Linked DNA regions of Homo sapiens: region 1 is linked to region 2. Evidence: promoter capture Hi-C in 16 types of primary human blood cells and fetal thymus (Javierre and others, 2016). All regions are on one chromosome and are shown on one strand. Each heading gives the region's core, a stretch centred on a gene start or on the middle of the fragment in contact. The rest is flanking DNA. Distances are from core to core; before and after follow the strand shown.

Region 1 (4,147 bases), core at 510-3,009, 1.3 Mb before region 2:
AGAATAGTTTTTATGCTGTCTGTTGAAGATGGCTTTGTGCAGTATCTATAAGGCAAAGGTTGCAGTGAGCTAACTTGCAGGTGTTTGGTGATAGTTGGACACAGGAAGGATGACTGTGAGTTATTTGCACAGGAGGGCTGTGTACTGGACCATGAAGAAAGGCAGACTTGCAGCTTATCTGCCTTATCTCTTTGTTTTCCCCTGATTAGGACTCCACAGCTAGAAGGTACTGAAGGTCCTACAGTAGGAAATCAGTGAGAAAGGGTTTTGAGTTGAACATGGAGAGAACAGTGCAATGTCTTTATTGTAGAACTTTATTTCAATTATCTCCAGCCCTTTTTCAATAATAGGGTAAGCATTTCTTCATGAAATAATTAAATACATATAAGAGTTATATAACATTCTTTTATACAAGTACACCATAATTTACTTCATCGAGTCCCTGAATTGTACATTTAAATTGTATTTCTCACCATTACACATCTTATGGCTGTGGTGAGCATACCACACACTTTAAGGCTGGCTTATGGATTAGTTTCTAAAGACTGACATCCTAAGATTAGAGAGCATGGCGGTTTGTCACATTCCTGATTCATATAGAAAAGATTCTGTTCTTGTTCCCTTTTTTGCTTCAAGCCAGAATTCAAAGGGAAACAATAAAGAAAATAATAAGCTTTGAGGAGGAAAGTACGCATTGAGGTCTGACTTTCTCAATTCCTAGTGAATGACATCAAGCAAATCTCTTTCTGATTTTTACTGTAAAACTGAGGATGTTTTTATCTAAGATTATTTTTCAAGAATAAAATAGTCTGGGACCAGTGGCCAACTCCTATAATCTCAGCGCTTTGGGAAGCAGAGGCAGGAGGATCTCTTGAGCCAAGAAATTCAAGGTTACAGTAAGCTGATGGTTGCCACTGCACTCCAGCCTGGACAATAGAGTGTGCTGTCAAAAAAAGAAAAAAAAAAAGTGGGATGTGGTGTCTCACGCCTGTAATCCCAGCATTTTGGGAGGCCAAGGCGGGTGACTCACTTTTGATCAGGATATTCAAGACCAGCCTGGCCAACATGGCAAAACCCCATCTCTACTAAAAATACAAAAAGAAATTAGCTGGGTCATACCTGTAATCCCAGCTACTCAAGGAAAATCGCTTGAACCTGGGAGGCAGAGGTTGCAGTGAGCTGAGACTGCACTACTGCACTCCAGCCTGGGCAACAGAGTGAGACTCGTCTCTAACAAAAAAAAAAAGAATAAAATAAAATTAGACAATATATGAGAAATGACCTCGCCAATTCTAAAAACATTATAGACTTATTAGATACTATACTGTGCCTTAAACTGATCTAAAACATATAATATACAAACATATTGCCTTTCACATATATATCATATATGTATATATTATCTAAATCTATATGCATATATTATATATATATATACATAGATATATATTCAAGTAAATATAAAGTTTGAAAAATACTTGGGTGAAATGTGGGTCCCTGCTTCACAACAGGGTCCCCCAGTTGCAGCATCATGTATAATTCAAATTTTGACATTTTGTTTTTAGGGAAGAAGTATCTTAAAGCTTGATTATAAAAACATAGAAATTTGATGGCATAAAATGTGTTACCTTTTATGAGTGGCAGACACCCTTGAGAATCTGCTGAAAGTGGCAGCTCCTTCCATGAAAAGAATATATATTCTTGTATATACACACATTCTTGGAATGTGGATTTTAACCAGTGGTTGTGGAAATGTGTTTAAGAGCTCTTTTATGCAGCTCAGTGTTTTTCTGTACCATGTGGAATTACAGAAAAAAATAGGCTAAACACACAAGAAAAGCAGCTTTATGTTTATATATAACAGGCCACAATTATGTGAGGGAATATGAAGTTGAGACCATTTAAGAAAATTTCTGAATCAACATCATAGATAAAGAAAGCTTAAATTGTCAACTATAATCTCAAGCCAAAGAATCGCCAATCCTCTCCTCAAGGATATTCCTCTGTTCATCCTTAAATACCCAGTCCTATTTCTCCTCCTCCCCACCAAAGTCTTCTCATAATGCTCTCAGCCTAGACCACTAACCCACCTCTGAGTTATTGGTCTTAGTGTTCCTGCTGGCTGGACAAGCACCCCCAAGTCTGCCCACCAAACTGCTGCAAACATTTCAAAGGCTTGATCCCAACAAGGCATCCTTCTCTGATAAGGTATATGAAATTCCTTTTATTGGTACTTCAATTTCCTTTAAAAAAAAAAAAAAACTTTTTTAGAAACAGCATTTCACTCTGTCACCCAGGCTGGAGTGCAGTGGTGCCATCACAGCTCACTGCAGCCTTGAACTCCTGAACTCAAGCAATCCTCCAACCTCAGCCTCCCAAGTAGCTAGGAATACAGGCAAGAACCACCATGCCCAAAGAGATGGGGTCTCATTGTGTTGCCCAGGCTGGTCTTGATCTCCTGGACTCAAGTAATCCTGCCTCAGCCTCCCAAAGTGCTGACATTACAGACATAAACCACTGTGCCTGGCCCTCAGTTTCCTTGTATATTGAAATATGGAGATGAGTTCTTCCCCCTACTAGTCCACTTGTGCCTTTCTGTCTCTCTCTTTCTCAAACTATGTAGCTCTCTGGTTATAAGGCTCCCAAAAGGGGTCCGCTAAAACATTAAGTCCAGATTCTCTCTCCATAGCTCTGGGCTCTGACCCTCACATCAGTATGCAAGTTCAAGAGAATGGAGAAATCTGTCTGGAGTGCACCTCAGTGGGATGGTACCCAGAGCCCCAGGTGCAGTGGAGAACTTCCAAGGGAGAGAAGTTTCCATCTACATCAGAGTCCAGGAATCCTGATGAAGAAGGTTTGTTCACTGTGGCTGCTTCAGTGATCATCAGAGACACTTCTGCGAAAAATGTGTCCTGCTACATCCAGAATCTCCTTCTTGGCCAGGAGAAGAAAGTAGAAATATCCATACCAGGTTAGTGGAACCAATGCTGCTGGATTCCTATGTTGACACAGCTTCAGAGCCACACCACCTGGGACACCTGCCCAGATGTGACCTCATGGCAGAGTTGTCTACTTTCCCCACCTAAGCTCTTTTCCAGTGACTTAAGGGAACCCCACCAACTTTATTAGAAGAGTTAAGATACTGAAGACATAAACCTACCTTGATCTCAAATAAATTTCAGATTATTTATCTATTTATTTTTTGAGACAGTGTCTCACTCTGTTGCCTAGACTGGAGTGCAGCAGCAGAATGATCTCAGCTCACTGCAAGCTCCGCTTCCCAGGTTCAAGCGATTCTCCTGCCTCAGCCTCCAGAATAGCTGGGACGACAAGTGCACACCACCGTGCCCAACTAATTTTGTGTATTTTTAGCGAAGGCAGGGTTTCACCATGTTCCCCAGGCTGGTCTTGAACTTCTGGCCTCAAGCAATCCACCTGCCTCGGCCTCCCAAAGTGCTGGGATTATAGGTGTGAGCCATCACACCCAGTGAAATTCCAGATTTTCCATTTCAGGAGATCTAAGTGAGATAGAGAAGCTTTGTCCCTGGAGGCCTTCCTGATCCAGAGCCTTCTCTCCTCAAGTAAACAAAAAGACTAAGTTGGCCGGGCGTGGTGGCTCACGCCTGTAATCCCAGCACTTTGTGAGGCCGAGACAGGCAGATCACAAGGTCAGGAGATCGAGACCATACTGGCCAACATGGTGAAACCCCGCCTCTACTAAAAATACAAAAAAATTAGCCAGGCATGGTGGCGGGTGCCTGTAGTCCCAGCTACTTGGGAGGCTGAAGCAGGAGAATGGTGTGAACCCGGGAGGCAGAGCTTGCAGTGAGCTGAGATTGCGCCACTGAACTCCACTCCAGCCTGGGTGACAGAGCGAGACTGCATCTCAAAAAAAAAAAAAAAGACTAAGTTATTTTTCTACTTTTGCCATTTCCACCCATACTCACTTCTCCTTCCTATCCCATGCTAGGGCTCTGTCTAGGTTTCCAGGGTCCTCAGGGAAGAAAATCCTCTCATTATTCCCCAGATACTGTCTCTGGTTCAGGCAGAAACCTTTCCTTATTCTTTGGTCAATGAGTCCCATTCTGTTACATACAGAGGCACACTTCCCCTTCCTTATTTACCTCCTTCATCCTCTTGGCTCCCA
Region 2 (4,174 bases), core at 1,305-3,804:
AATCTTACAGGCCTTCTATGGAGCTGTATCATTTACTCTATATTGAGAAACAATTATTGAAAATTTATACACATAAATAACACAGATGACATTTTAAAAGGGAACAAATGAATTAATTCATTGAAATCAGGATGGAGTCCTCAACATCAAATAATAAATTTTTTTAAACAATGTGATATTTATGATTTTTGTGATTGCTGTTTTATTCCAAGAAATACTAGTTGTATGTGATTGCAATCAAGACTTAAATCTAGGAAATAAAAATGTGTGAAGAGACTCAAAAATTAATGTATTTCAATGGACTGGAGATCCTGTAGAAATTCATTTTCATTAACATGTCTGTATGAGGAAAACAGTAGCTTATATAAGTTTAGGTGGAGAGGAATAGAAGGCCCTCTCTATAGCTAGGAGGACTTGGTGATCTGAGAAGGAAAGGAGTGATCTTGGTGAAAGAAAGGAAGCAGGAAAAACTGACAGGAACAGGAGTATATGACCATGATATAATAAAAAACCTGACTTACAATGTCCTTCATTCATACTGTTTTTAAATAACACGTTCTAAAGTAATCTCACACCCTAACCCCAACCCTTTCCCATCATTTATATAAACAGTCCATTATGACATGTATTCTTTGCCCAAGCCAACTTGAAGCTCCTTTTGGATAGAGACTTTATGTATCTGGATTAATATTGTATTCCCATTTAGGAGAGTGCCTGGCACACCATAGATGCTCAGAAAGATTCAATTGAACTCGAATAGGTAGGCCAAACACACACGGGGTCCTAAATTGTGCAGAAGGGTCAGATACCTAAATTTTGCTTCCATGGTCTTATGAAGTATAAACTAAAAGCCCAAGTAAGGAGCAAAGGTTAGTTTACCAATTTTATCTCTGGAACCCAGGTACACTGAAAAGTATTATTTAGCTAGCTTTCAGTCCTCTGTAATACAGAAAGTAAATATCTGACACTAGGTTCATTTGAAACACTCTTGCTCTGTCACACAAGCTGGACTGCAGTGGTGCAATCATAGCTCATTGCAGCCTCGAACTCCTGGGCTCAAGTGATCCTTCTGGTCTCAGCCTCCCGAGTAGCTAGGACTACAGGCTATGAGACGCCAGGCACGGTTAGTTATTTTACTTTTGTAAAGATCAGGCTGGCTTCGAACTCCAAGGCTCTAGCGGTCCTTCCGCCTCGGCTTCCCAAAGCGGTTCTGTTTACCGGATGGTGCCAAACAGTTCCAGGCTCTTGGTGCCCGGTAGAAATTGGACGACACACACACAGATAGCAAAGCAAAGCAGCAAAAGTTTAGTAAACAGAGTATTACACTCTCGGGGGTGGGAGAGAGCGGACTGACCTCTGCGAGGTGAGATCAGCGTCAGCTTGCTGTAGTTTGAGTCATTTTATGTGTGTGCGTGCGTGTGTGTATGTTTTCTGTTCCCAGTGCTGCCTAATCTATAGCCAGCATCTGCCCTTTTATTGATAGGTTTGTTGCTTACTTTGTCCTCTGTGGCTTGTGCCTCTATCTTATAATCTTAAATATATGCATGATATGTAGCCCATATGCATGAACCTTAAGTAGCTGATTATCATACGGGCTTTTGTTAAGGATACTTTTCCTCTCTAATACGCATGCCCATCTCTGAAGAGCTGCCTCTTAAACTGGTTTGTTCCAGATCTTGCCGGCCACGAGGTCCTTGCTCACATTATCTCTTTTGTTTCGGCTGCAAAAGGTTCACTGCTTGTTATCTCGCTTCTTGTTCACCCGCCCATCTACCTTACTTCTGCCCTTTGCTTTTACTTATTCTGCCCTCTAACTTTCAGCTCCCTTTGTTATTCTCTTGCCTCACTTTTCTTATTGTTTCAGCTGTATTGCAGGCGCGAGCTGCCGCGCCTAAATTTCTTGATGTACCGTAAACATTTCAATGTCTACTTTCTATCTCAAAACAATGTGGTGTAAAAGCCGTTTAGTTTTGCTTCATCTCCATACAGCATTCCAGTGCCATTGCAAAATGACTCGACTATCAGATAAAACTGAACACAGCTCTACTTGGTGAAAAAGTAGGTGGCTCTGAAAAGAACCTTTTTGGTTTGGACCGAGGTATGAGTAATGAACTGCTCCAGCCCCGCTACTTGCCCTTGGCCTTGTGGTGGCTCTCAGTTTTCTTAGGCAGCAGCACGGCCTGGATATTGGGCAGGACACCACCCTGGGCGATGGTCACTTTACCAAGCAGCTTGTTGAGCTCCTCGTCGTTGCGGATGGCCAGCTGCAAGTGGCGCGGGATGATGCGGGTCTTCTTGTTGTCGCGGGCCGCGTTGCCAGCCAGTTCCAGGATCTCGGCGGTTAGGTACTCCAACACCGCCGCCAGGTACACCGGCGCTCCGGCACCGACCCGCTCAGCGTAGTTGCCCTTGCGGAGCAGTCGGTGCACTCGGCCCACTGGGAACTGAAGACCCGCCCTTGAAGAACGGGTCTTAGCCTTGGCGCGAGCTTTGCCGCCCTGCTTGCCACGTCCCGACATGACGTAAAAAATTCAATCAGTAACGTTCCTGAGACTGACGTAACGCTAAAGCTCCGCTACTTATAGTCAACAGAGGCACGAAAACTAAGCTGTGCTATTGGCTAACATTACAGTTTCGCTTTAACCAATGGGATTGCGGTTTTGAAAAACACTTATTTTGATTGGACAAAGTTAATATACGTTTCCAGGACTCACCACTGGTTAAACGCACAACTTCATTCTCTACCCCACTTGCGTTAAGAAGCAGTGAATAAGCGGTAGGTTGACAGAGCTACCGTCTTCCTGTTTTTTTCCTCCAATTTTCCGGCAGTTACTCCCAGTCATGCCCGAGCCCTCAAAGTCCGCTCCTGCCCCGAAGAAAGGCTCCAAGAAGGCAGTGACAAAGGCCCAGAAGAAGGACGGCAAGAAGCGCAAGCGCAGCCGCAAGGAGAGCTACTCCGTGTACGTGTACAAGGTGCTGAAGCAGGTCCACCCCGACACCGGTATCTCGTCCAAGGCCATGGGCATCATGAACTCCTTCGTCAATGACATCTTCGAGCGCATCGCCGGCGAGGCTTCCCGCCTGGCGCATTACAACAAGCGCTCGACCATCACCTCCAGGGAGATCCAGACGGCCGTGCGCCTGCTGCTGCCAGGGGAGCTGGCCAAGCACGCGGTGTCGGAGGGCACCAAGGCCGTCACCAAGTACACCAGTTCCAAGTGAGCCCGCCCACCGCGGAACGTTCGGTCAGTCTCGGCCCACACCCCAAAGGCTCTTTTCAGAGCCACTCAGTCTTCCCAAAGAGAACTGGCACTCACTGTTCTTACAGCAGGTATTTCTTACTTGCTACAAAGACGATTTCCAAGATTCCTTTAGCCTTGTTAGAAACTAATTTTGGCTCAAGCCTCTAATCCCGGTTCGGGAAACCGAAGCGGGTGGCTCACCTGAGGTTAGAAGTTCGAGACGAGCCTAGCCAACATGGTGAAACCCGTCTCTACTAAAAGTACAAAAAAATAGCTGGGCGTGGTGGCGGACGCCTGTAATCCCAGCTACCCGGGAAGCTGAGGCAGGAGAATCGCTTGAACCCGGCAGATGGAGGTTGCAGTGAGCCGAGATCGGGCCATTGCACCCCAGCCTGGGCAGTAAGAGCGAAACTCTGTCTCAAAAAAGAAAGAAAAAGAAAAGAAATTAATTAGCACTGCAGTGTACTGCATGTTGCAGCAACGCTTGAGACAATTTTATATCTGAAGAAGGATGAGGTTTATCATCAGACAAACCTAGTAAAGGGAAAATTCAGTTCCTGTTGACCCCAAAGAAAATATAATACTTAAGTGTCACTGGTAAAATATCCACAGTGCTTCCGGCGCTCTGTCCCTAAACTTCATGTGTACTTTAGTAATGAAGCAGTTGGCACACACACAAACGTACAAATCGACTTGTTTGTTTTGAGAGTGGTGCTGTTTCTCCTCCCTTGTCCCCAGTTTGGATTTGCTAAATATTAAGATAGAAAGGCAGTAGAAAAAAGTTTGAACCCAGTTTACAGCACCGTACACGTCAATCGGGCTGAGTTGATGTCAATGGCCAATCCCGACACTGCGAGGGCAGTTTGAAACTTGGCCACCGTTTTCTCTGGTGAGTGTTCTAGTTGGGAAAATTCTTGGCAGTGCAGGTTTTT

The links. The method cuts DNA at HindIII sites, captures the fragments that hold promoters and counts their contacts. A CHiCAGO score of 5 or more calls a contact.
Region 1: a contact is called between a fragment that was not itself captured here and the fragment with the promoter of H2AC15 in region 2, in 1 of 17 cell types (naive CD8 T cells). The highest score is 5.0, in naive CD8 T cells.

Annotation. Positions count from the first base shown.
Region 1 is chr6:26,502,236-26,506,382 of GRCh38, forward strand. It overlaps BTN1A1 (butyrophilin subfamily 1 member A1), which reads left to right. Exons shown (of 8, transcript NM_001732.3): 4 at 2,690-2,971. The region is part of intron 1 of LOC107986583 (a long non-coding RNA gene); the gene reads right to left. Among named protein-coding and RNA genes, the nearest start is that of BTN1A1, 4.0 kb to the left of the region's middle. The HindIII fragment of the contact is 357 bases long and covers 1,582-1,938 here.
Region 2 is chr6:27,835,821-27,839,994 of GRCh38, forward strand. It overlaps H2AC15 (H2A clustered histone 15), which reads right to left and starts at 2,555. Exons shown (of 1, transcript NM_003510.3): 1 at 2,060-2,555. The coding sequence starts at 2,519. The coding sequence ends at 2,127. It overlaps H2BC15 (H2B clustered histone 15), which reads left to right and starts at 2,749. Exons shown (of 1, transcript NM_003520.4): 1 at 2,749-3,290. The coding sequence starts at 2,842. The coding sequence ends at 3,222. RefSeq lists enhancers at 685-1,622, 1,711-1,800, 1,871-1,920, 2,191-2,300, 2,371-2,460 and 3 more. The HindIII fragment of the contact is 16,643 bases long and covers 1-4,174 here.